Regions from separate parts of the Homo sapiens genome. Here regions 1, 3 and 4 are each linked to region 2. The links are contacts of gene promoters, found by promoter capture Hi-C in human tissues and cell types (Jung and others, 2019). All regions are on one chromosome and are shown on one strand. The core of a region is centred on a gene start or on the middle of the fragment in contact, and the rest is flanking DNA. Distances in the headings are between cores, read along the strand shown. Region 1 has its middle 21 kb from the start of PKP4-AS1. Region 2 holds the start of ACVR1C (activin A receptor type 1C). Region 3 has its middle 2.5 kb from the start of PKP4-AS1. Region 4 overlaps PKP4-AS1 (PKP4 antisense RNA 1).

Evidence for each region. The method cuts DNA at HindIII sites, captures the fragments that hold promoters and counts their contacts. A contact is called where the count stands out against the background at its distance.
Region 1: a contact is called between a fragment that was not itself captured here and the fragment with the promoter of ACVR1C in region 2, in 1 of the 25 tissues and cell types used here (dorsolateral prefrontal cortex).
Region 3: a fragment that was not itself captured here is called in contact with the fragment with the promoter of ACVR1C in region 2 in 1 of the 25 tissues and cell types used here (spleen).
Region 4: a contact is called between a fragment that was not itself captured here and the fragment with the promoter of ACVR1C in region 2, in 1 of the 25 tissues and cell types used here (lymphoblastoid cells).

The regions. Positions count from the first base shown.
Region 1 is chr2:158,754,211-158,756,937 of GRCh38, reverse strand. No RefSeq gene overlaps it. Among named protein-coding and RNA genes, the nearest start is that of PKP4-AS1, 21 kb to the right of the region's middle. The HindIII fragment of the contact is 3,473 bases long and covers 1-2,727 here.
Region 2 is chr2:157,627,573-157,630,272 of GRCh38, reverse strand. It overlaps ACVR1C (activin A receptor type 1C), which reads left to right and starts at 1,409. Exons shown (of 9, transcript NM_145259.3): 1 at 1,409-1,701. The coding sequence starts at 1,629. RefSeq lists a silencer at 1,465-1,694. The HindIII fragment of the contact is 14,203 bases long and covers 119-2,700 here.
Region 3 is chr2:158,736,197-158,738,896 of GRCh38, reverse strand. No RefSeq gene overlaps it. Among named protein-coding and RNA genes, the nearest start is that of PKP4-AS1, 2.5 kb to the right of the region's middle. The HindIII fragment of the contact is 3,985 bases long and covers 1-2,700 here.
Region 4 is chr2:158,708,928-158,711,675 of GRCh38, reverse strand. The region is part of intron 1 of PKP4-AS1 (PKP4 antisense RNA 1); the gene reads left to right. Among named protein-coding and RNA genes, the nearest start is that of PKP4-AS1, 25 kb to the left of the region's middle. The HindIII fragment of the contact is 3,816 bases long and covers 1-2,748 here.

The sequences.
Region 1 (2,727 bases), core at 92-2,591, 1.1 Mb before region 2:
CACACTCATTAAGCAGTCACCCCCCACCATTCAACACTTTCCCCAGCCCCTGGCAACCACCAATCCACATTCTGTCTCTATGGATTTGCATAACCTGGATAATTCATATACACGGGGTTATACAATACGTGACCTTTTGAGTCTAGCATCTCCCACTTAGCATAACAGTCTACAGGTTCATGCAAGTTATAGCGTGTATCAGTACTTCAGTTCTTTTTACGGCTGCATATTATTCCATTGTATGTGTGTAGCCACAATTTGTTTACGTCTTCATTCGTTGACGGACATTTCAGCTGTTTCTACCTTTTGACTCTTGTGAATAATGTCGCTATGAATGTTTGTGTACAAGGATTTGTCTGAGCACCGGTTTTCAATTATTTTGGGTATGCATGCTGGGTCATGCGGTAATTCTGTGTTTAACTTTTTGAGGAAACGTCAAACTGCTTTCCATAGCATCTGAGTCATTTTTCACTCACACTGGCAATGTATGAGGGTTGCTACTCCTCCACAGCCTTGTTATTGAAGCTTTACTTTTTTGGAGGGGGTGCATTTTTTCTACCTATTTTGTAATTATTAAGCAAAAAGTAGTTTGGTCCTTTCAGCCAAACTTGTCAATCAAGCTTAGAAAACACATAGGATACATTTTGGTGAGCAGAAAGTCTGATTTAATTAATTTAACTAATTAAAAAGGGGTTAACACTGTTTTTCCAATTACTTCATTTACTACAATTTGTACTGAAACTTTACTTTTTAAACCCTTCAGTAACTTCCTCTTGTGCCCAACTCTGACTCTCTCCACACCCAAACCTAACCCATCCCTGCAGCCTACCTCTTATCATGCTATATTGTGATTCTCTGTTCACGTGTCTCTTTGTGTTAGACTTGGCAGTTGCAGACTGGCATTGCTTGTGGGCAGAGAGCCTCTGGTGCCTGCAGAATGTGGACTGGCCACCTCGTAGGTGGGCAATGGGTGTCTAGGAATGTGTTACTAGGAGGGCACAGGGGCGCCCCCTCTTGGCGAGCAGGAATAAGCCTACACACTCTCTCACCTTCCCTGGCCCTGACACTAGCATAACACACTTTATTGACTTTAAAGCGATGAAACGAAGGCAAATGAGACACCAGATGGGCAAGCATGCTGAGCTCTTTGGAGAAAAGAGGCTGTGTAAATCCAAGTCTTTCTTTTATTGAAGAAACAAGGCAAATGACTCCAAATTGTCTTTACTTTATTGTGCCTGAAAAAAGAAAAGTCAGTCCAGATCATGGAAATGGCATTCGGTGGCATCTGAATGGAATCCTCATGCACTAAATGCAAGACTTATGGGCAAGCTGTGAGTCTGGGGTGCTGCACTGTCATCTAGTGATGAGGTGAGAGTGTGCCCCTGCATGACTAAGCCCTTCCTTTTCATTTGTTGTCTGTTGCTGTAAAATTGGAGGAGCATATGAATCCTTCCTGCTGCCCACGTGAGAACATTTGTCACTTCCCATTTATCAAAAGACACCACAAAGGTGCTAAGCTCCAGCAAGGCAAAGGTAAATACAATCTCATCCTACTCTCAATGTGTCCACATGTCAGATGCCACATGCTTTGAAGCCACATACCTGGAATATTTTGAAAGAAAGAAATCTCAGTGGGAAGGAATATAAAATTTGCTTGCAGGCACACATGAAAGATATGAGCAGTTACAGGTCCTTTATTTGGGTTTTATTTGGTCAGTTGGGTCCCATCGTTAGACAAAAAGCTAAATATTTTTCACATGTGTTGGCAGTTTTAGGGCTGTTATAACATTGACTTTTCTAGTACCAATAGATGGGCAGTACGTTAAGTCAGAGAGAAGCATTTGACTATGAGCTTTTCTCAACTGAAGTTACAATAGTTTCCCTTTATCTGTGGGTGATACATTCCAAGACCCCCAGTGGATGCCTGAACCATATATATATTATGTCTTTTGCTATATATATGTACCTACGATAAAGTTTAATGTATAAACTAGGCACAATAAGAGATGAATAACAATAATAATAAAATAGAACAGGCCAGGCACAGTGGCTCACACCTATAATCCCAGCACTTTGGGAGGCTGAGGCGGGTGGATCACCTCTCTACTAAAAATACAAAAATTAGTCGGGCCTGGTGGCAGGCGCCTGTAATCCCAGCTATTCGGGAGGCTGAGGCAGGAGAATGGCTTGAACCTGGGAAGTGGAGGTTGCAGTGAACCGAGATTGCACCACTGCACTCCAGCCTGGGCAACAGAGCGAGACTCCATTTCAAAAACAAAAAAGAAACAAAACAAAACAAAAAAACCAACCAAACAAAAACAAACCCTAGACCATTCTGTCCACACAGGCATCAGCTTCTTATCAAATATTTTCCCATCAGAAATAACTTTCCCTTCCCAAGATGACTTCTGGCTAGTTGATTTTCTCCAGCTCAGCATCCTTGCTTTGCAAACCCAATCAAGCCTTAGGAGCTCTGTGCTGGGAAGCTAATCCTGGGAAGCTTCAGTAAGACCTGCGAGGATTTGTGCACCGCTCAGACGTCCATTTCAATATTCACGACCTGTATTTGGCATTTTCAATAAAATTCAAAAGCAAATGGCTTTCCACCATTACAGCTTATTATGTAGGTGTTAGGAGGCATTCTCTTCTTGTCTCCCATACTCTGTAGCGGTTCCTCCTGCTGTTTTCTGTGGAAATGACCATCTGGTTGGGACTTCCTAGAGATGA
Region 2 (2,700 bases), core at 160-2,659:
TTCTTGCCTTTTTAAAAAAGCATCTGTTTTGTGGGTGTCTGAAAGGGCTCAGATTTGTCCCACATCTCCAGTTTTTTGTTTGTTTGGATCCAGGATAAAACAAGAACAAAGTTTTTTTGTGCTTAGGAATATAAGATGGTGGCAGAAAAGATCCTCAGGATGCCACCCACATCTCAAAGTCCAACAACCATCTCATCTCCCATACTGTGATCCTTTGATAATAAAGTCAATTACATACAACATTTCACCATAGGTCTTTCATAGAACTTAGAACACCTAGCATATAATTTAGTCCTGAGCTAGGTGAAGAAGCAAGAAATGTTTTACTCTAAAGCAATTTTTATGACGCTATCACTTTTCAAGGAACCCCCAACAGTAGTAATAACACCAGTATTGTATTCTTGCTTTTTCGCGTTGTTCAGATTGAAATAATCCCATTCACTTTAATGTTCAGGCTCCATAGGTGAATTGAATTTAATTTCTATAAATTGGTAATGTTGCCGTTGTCCTTATATTTTCAGGCACAATCCAGGCCTTATATTTTCAGGCACCCGTTTGACAGTTAGCCTCTAGGGATTAAACAATACTCAAACAAGTTTTTCATATACTACTTTAAACAATTCTTCCCCTTCCCTTAATCCGTGTGTGTGTGTGTGTGTGTGTGTGTGTGTGTGTGTGTGTGTGTATGTTCCCTTAGTTCTTCAATTGCTGAAGTTGTAGCTGCCGAAATTATCTTCCATAGGTGAGGTCTTTTACCACCAGACGTGGGTCACACATTGTAGATGGCCACATCACCTGGCGCAGGTGGTCCAGCTTTGGTCGCCATTCATAGAGGGAAGGGTTCCCAAAAGGCACCCAAGAAGAGATGAAGTTTGTTAAACCAAAGCTTATAGGTCCAGAAGGCAGTCGGACAACTGGTCATTTCCAGGGATGAACAGAGAGGGCGCCCTTCCCCAGAGGCACAAATGGCCAGGACGCAGGGGTGGGACAAGCCAGTAGGAAGCCCGCGGGGCTCTCACAGCGCAACCTGGTTGGACTTAAGGACCCTGGACAACAAACGTCAGGAGAGCTAGGAGGCTGGCTCTTCTGCGGGAGGTTATAGAGCGGATCACCTGGGCGCAATCGCCGCGTAGTTGAAGTTTCCCTAAAGTCTCAGTGGGGCTTTTCCTCCCGTGAGAAGCCCCATTCCTGAGTATCTAGTCCCGGAGGCTCCGCACTGCTTCCCCACGCCCCCTCTTTCTTCGCCCCAGCTCTGGGCGATCTCACTGCCGGGCACAGGGCCGCCTTTGCCTGCCTGCCCTGCAGCAGCAGGCCCGGGCGGCTGCGAGAGGGCGCAGGGGGCGGAGGCGCGGCAGGGGCGGGCTCTGCCGCCCGCCCCACCACCCGCTCCCCGCCCGGCTGCGGGGCCAGTGGCAGGAGCGCCGCGCACCGCCAGCCGCAGGGGGCGTGGGATGGGGGCGGCCGGGGAGGGGGGCGCCCACACTGACTAGAGCCAACCGCGCACTTCAAAAGGGTGTCGGTGCCGCGCTCCCCTCCCGCGGCCCGGGAACTTCAAAGCGGGCCGTGCTGCCCCGGCTGCCTCGCTCTGCTCTGGGGCCTCGCAGCCCCGGCGCGGCCGCCTGGTGGCGATGACCCGGGCGCTCTGCTCAGCGCTCCGCCAGGCTCTCCTGCTGCTCGCAGCGGCCGCCGAGCTCTCGCCAGGTACGGTGCTGGTTTCTCTCCCGACGCCCGCGAGGGTGGGAGCTGGGAGGAGGTCTGCGGGTGAGCACGGGGGTGGGGGACAGGGGGTGCTCCGAGCAAACTGACCTTCGGGGCGGACAGGGAAGCGCCAGTCGGATTGAGGGGGCGCGGGATAGGGTGCAGCGTGGGCACCTGACGTCTGGCAGCCGTAGGGGTAGACAGGTGTGTTGGGGACGAAGCCGCCCGGAAGAGGGAAAAGGCAGCAGGGACGTGGGGGAATAAGTAGTAGGGGTGAGGTGGGTGACTAATTTGTGGGCAGTTTGCAGCGGAGAAAATAGGAGAGCGTTTGTGGGTGCGCGCATGGCTGGGAGCTGGGTTCACCCTGCAGGGACCTGGAGGGCTGCAGGTATGCGTCGGACGCGCTCTGTGCTAAGCCCCTGAGAGCTGCTCAAGGATGGTGGCATGGTGGTGGTGGGAGGTGGTGATTTAGTCTGAGTTTTAGGAGGCGGGGAATACCCCAAAAGCCGCAGATGCCAAGCTATGGAGGCGAGAGTGGGAGCTTAAATCTGTGTGGTTTGCAACGCACATTGCTTTCGAGGTACGATCTTTACTCAGAGTTCCTGGGGAAAAAAATTCTGGCAAGCGCCCCAGAGTTTATAACAGGTCTGTGCCTTGATAGGCTAAATAGAGCCCTCTACCCAATCTAGAAGCCAGACGTTTCTTTATAATGTTTACTAGAAAGTGGGGCAAATGCATCTTTGGTAAAATCATAATATGCTGTGACTAAAAGCCCTTTACCTCGAAAACTATTTTCATTACATTGTCCTGGATTATGCAGAGGAGGAGCAGATTCTTTGCTAACTCATTCTTTAAAAATTTCTATCAGACATTGAAGACATTTGCACATAAAAATCTGGTGTTTTCCCATAGAGCTGTGTTTTGTCCGAAGCTGATTTTGATGCATTTTGTTTTCCCAGATGACAATCTGTTTGACATTAATAGCTATATTCATGGTGGGTC
Region 3 (2,700 bases), core at 49-2,548, 1.1 Mb before region 2:
CCTGAACAAGTGGGATCTTGCAGAATGGACTCAGGGGCCCGGGTTGGGCAAGGCTGATCCGTGAAAGAGAGTCTAGAGGCAAAACTGAAGTCACAAACAGGCACAGACTGATCAAGATGTCTCAAAGATGCCTTCAAAAAGGTAAGGCATGAAGAGGCAATCCAGGTATAAGACCTTGGGATGGCATCAGATTTGACTTCGAGGCTGGGAGGGGGTTCTGAGAAGTGGGGTTCTGAGAAGTGGCCTTCTGCTCCCGCAGGGCTGCAGTGGTCACAGTGATTGGGAGGGGTTCTGAGAAGTGACCTTCTACTCCCACAGAGCTGTGGTGATCACAGTGATTGGGAGGGGTTCTGAGAAGTGGCCTTCTGCCCCTGCATGGCTGCAGTGGTCACAGTGATTGGGAGGAGTTCTGAGAAGTGGCCTTCTGCTCCCGAAGGGCTGTGGTGGTCACAGTGATTGGGAGGAGTTCTGAGAAGTGACCTTCTGCTCCCAAAGGGCTGTGGCGGTCACAGTGATTAAGCGGTGCAGTGGCTTTTTCTTCCCTGTTCTTACAAAACTGGTTACCTCTTTAAATTCTTAGCTCCACTGAGCTCAGAATCCACCATTTTTTTCCTATTAATGTGGAGTAGAAACTTGTTATCTGGCTCAATATTAATCTGTTTCAAAATCAGCATCAGCACGTCTATTTTCCTAAGTGCTTAATAGAATGAACAACAACTGCCCCTGTCAACTCCCAGCCCAGCGTTCTTCCTACCAAACCAAGCAGCTTATTGCCCACACAGAGGCTGAGTTCATTGAAAAATATTTATTTTTTACCTTTCTGTTTTTACCCTTCTGGCATGGCCTGTGAATGAAACCGGGAGCTGGGGATTTTGTGAGTGTTTCGAGTCCATGTAGCTTCACGACGAACTGCAGGTCCTGCAGCAGGGAGGGCTGGGCAACCAGAGCTTCTCAAGCTGACTCATGCTCAGCTCCATTACTCTAGGATTCAGTTTCTCCAGTTATAAAAATTATGATAGAGATGGAAAGCAAATTAATTGAATGAAGGATGGTTTTCAAGGGCCCCCACTGCACTTGCACAAGCAACTTTCAAGAACTGCAAGCCATATATCTATAGTTTTATACTCTTTTTCTTAAAGAAAACCCCTAAATTATAAATACACAAGCTTCTGTAAAACCTGCTCTATCCCCAGAATGGCATCCAGCTAGTTCAGGGGCACTAAGGGTTCACATTTTGAGAGAAAGGCTAGAAACCATGCCTGCTCTTCTCTGCTTTTGCCAACTCCTTTCTTTTTCTTTTTTTTCTTTTTCTTTTTTTTTTTTTTTTTTGGCCAACACTAAAGAGTTGGAAATGTTGCTATCAACAGCAAACTAACACCAGATATTTATTAACATGATTCTATTGGAAAAGCCACAGAGCTTTGGGTTACAGTGATGTCTATTATTGATGAAGAGATGAGGAGCTTCCACTGTGAAAAATAAAACTAAGCTCATATAAAATTCAACTTGGCTAATTTGACTTGAAGGTTGCAAAGCTGGAGGAAGCCAGGAAGAGGGAAAAAAAGAACTAGGAAAGGCTATGCAGTCGAGAAAGTTTGGGAGACTGGTCTATAGGGCAGGAGGAAGTCATCCCCTTATCACTGGGCCCCTTTGCTCTATAGAGAAGACACTGCCCAGTACCTGTTGATGTTCTGTGTTGCAACTGAGAGCACAATACAGAAAAGACCCCTGTCTGTGCCGCAAGACTGCATGTTGTGGTATGAAGGGCTTCAATCATTCACCATTCATTCAACAGATGTTTTCGTTAGTGTTGCTAGATGCTGGAGACATTATGTCGAGCAAAACAGATGTGGCCCTGGTGTTCCAGTTTGGAGAAGACACAGCCAAGAAAAGAGGCCAGTGCAATTCAATGTGATGTGTGCTGCAATAGGGCAGATACAGCGTATTAGGGGAGCACAAAGAGAGGCATCTGATCCAGCTCTGGGGAGTCAGGAAAGACTTCTCCAGGAAAGCGGGGATCCATCTGAGACCTGCAAAATGAGCAGGCATTCACCAGAAGAAACGAGAAGCGTGTTTAAGGTAGAACAAAGAGGGAAGCAGTCAATGTTTCTGAAGCATCATGGACCAGGTGTGTGGTGGAGTCATGGGAGAAGGATAGAGTGGGCATTATTTAAGCAGATGCTGGCTCATATCGGCTTTGAAAACCTTAGGAAGGAGTGTAGACTTTATCTCAAAGGTAATAACTTTGTGATATCACCCAGATGTTGTGGGGGAGTGGTCTAGAGGGAAGCAAGGCTGGGGATAAAGAGGCTAGTTAGGAGGCTGTGACAATGGAGGCAAAATGTAATGGGGCCCTGGATGGAAGTTGCAAATGTGGATGGAGAGATGAATAAGGATTCAAAAAATATTTAAGAGGCACAATAGACATGCTTTGATAGTTGGTTAGAAATGCAGTGTAATGTGTCCAAGGAATCTAGGATGACCTCAGACACATTTGACTTGAGCAGTTGGGCAGCCAGATGGTAGAGCCATTTGGAAAGACAGTGACTCCAGAAGGAACAGGTTTAGCACTTGTGAACTGAATTGGCCATTAGGTTAAAAGGAGGCTTCAGAATTCACAGAAGGTCAAGTTGAAAGGCCCAAGAAAAACTGACTTATTAAAGTTACAGAGGTCAGGTCAGAGGAGGAAAAGACAGGAGG
Region 4 (2,748 bases), core at 222-2,721, 1.1 Mb before region 2:
ATGGTGATGGTTGTTCAACAATGTGAATGTAGTTAACACCACTGAACTGTACACTACAAATGGCTAAAGTGGTTAAAAAAGTAAAAGGCTAGAAAATGATATATTACGCAAACATTAATAAAAGGAAAGCAAGATTGGTTATATTAATATTAAAGTAAATATCAAAGGAAAGAAAATTACCAGAGACAGAGGAGGATGTTATGTCATGATAAAGGGTCAATTGCCAAGAAAAAAGTGGCAACTCTAACTGCATAGGCACCAAACAACAGAGCTCCAAATATGGATAGCAAAAACTCACAGAATAGACAGGAGAAATAGGAAAATCCACAACTGTATTTAGAAAGCACAACACGCCTCTCTCAAAAATTGATGTAGACCAGGCACGGTGGCTCATGCCTGTAATCCCAGCAGTTTGTGAGGCCAAGGCATGCAGATTGCTTGATCCCAGAACTTTGAGACCAACCTGCACAACATGCCAAAACCCCATCTCTACCAAAAAAAAAGAAACAACAACAACAAAAAACACAAATTAGCCAGGTGTGGTGGCGCACGCCTATAGTCTTAGCTACTCAAGAGGCTGAGCTGGGAGATTACTTGAACCTGGGAGGAAGAGGCTGCAGTAAGCTGAGATCGTGCCACTGCACTCCAGCCTGTGCGACAGAGCAAATCCCTGTCTCGAATAAATAAATAAATAATTGATGAAAAGCTAAACAGAAAATCAGCAAGGATAGAAGAACTCAGCAAATATTAATCAACAGAATCTTATCAACATTTATAGAAAACTCCATTCAAGGCCAGGCGCAGTGGCTCATACCTGTAATACCAGCACTTTGGGATGCCAAGGCAGATCACTTGAGGTCAGGGGTTTGAGATCAGCCTGACCAACATGGTGAAGCCCTGTATCTACTAAAAAAAAAAAAAAAAATTAGTCAGGTATAGTGGCGGGCGTCTGTAATCCCAGCTACTTGTGAGGCTGAGGCAGGAGAATCGCTTGAACCCAGGAGGTGGAGGTTACAGTGAGCTGAGATTGTGCCACTGCATTCCAGCCTGGGCAACAGAGCAAGACTCTATCTCAAAAAAAAAAAAAAAAAAAAAAAAAAAAGAAAAGAAAAGAAAACTCCATTCAGTAACAATAGAATACATGTTGTTTTCAAGGGCCCACAGAACGTTATACCAAGATAGACCATATCCTGTACCATAAAACAGACCTTAAGAAATTTAAAAGAATTGAAAACATACAGAGTATGTTCTCTGACCCAGTGAAATCAAACTAGAAATCAATAACAGAAAGATAAATGGAAAATCTCCAAGCACTTGGAAACTAAACAGCACACTTCAAAATAATCCATGGGTCAAAGAGGAGGGCTCAAGGAAAATAAAAACTACCCTGAAGTAAATAAAATGAAAATACAACATCTTGGCATTTGTGGGGCACTGCTAAAACAGTGCCAAGAAGGGAATGTATAGAACAAAATGCTTACATTAGAAAAGAAGGAAAGTCTGAAATCAATAACAGAAGCTTCCAACTCAAGAACTTAGAAGAGCTCAAAATAAACCCAAAGCAAACAGAATGAAGGAAATAATAAAGGTAATATCTGAAATCTATGAAATTGAAAATAGAAACACAATAGAGAAAATTGATGAAACAGAGGTTTTATTTTTTTTGAAAAGGTCAATAAAATAGTCAATTTTAAGAGTAAAACTGACAAAAACAGAGAGAAAACACAAACTGTCAATATCAGCAATGAAAGAGGGGCTATCACTACAGACCCTGCAGTTATCAAAAGGATAATAATAGACTGTTATGAACAAGTCTATATACATAGTTTGACACCTTAGGCTGAATGAACCACTCCCTCAGAAAAACACAAATTACCGCAACTCACCCAACATGAAATATATAATTTGAGTAGACCCTATAATAATTAGGAAATTTAGGCCAGGCACAGTGGCTCATGCTTGTAATTCTGGCACTTTGGGAGGCCGAGGCGGATCACCTGGGGTCAAGGGTTCGAGACCAGCCAGGCCAACATGGCAAAACCCCATCTCTACTAAAAATACAAAATTAGTGGGGTGTGGTAGCACGTGCCTGTAATCCCAGCTACTTGGGAGGCTGAGGCATGAGAATCGCTTGAACCAGGGAGGCAGAGGTTGCAATGAGCTGAGATCCTGCCGCTGCACTCCAGCTTGGGGGATAGAGTGAGACTCTGTTTCCAAAAGAAAAGAAAAGAAAAGAAAATTAGGAAATTTAATTTCTAATTTAAAAACTCTCAGAAAAAAAATCTCCAGGCCAGATGGTTTCAATGGAGAATTCTACCAAATGTTTAAAGAATAATTAACACCAGTTCTACACTATCTCTTCCAGAAAGTAGAAGAAAAGGAAATATTTACTAATTCATTATATGAAGCTAGTATTACCCTGATATCAAAGCACAGTGAGATACACCCTTATAAGAATGGCTAACATAAAAAATAGTGACAACATTACAGGTTAGAGAGGATGTGGAGGAACTGATCACTTCTAGATTGCTGGTGGGAATGTAAAATGGCATAATCATTGTGGAAAGCAGTTTGAAAGTTTCTTTAGAAAAAAAAAGAAACATGCAATTACCATATAACCTAGCAATTGCACCCTTGGTCATTTATCACAGAGGAATGAAGACCTATGTTCACACAAAAACCTATATGTGGGCTGGGTGTGGTGGCGCATGCCTGTAATCCCAGCACTTTGGGAGGCCGAGGAAGGAA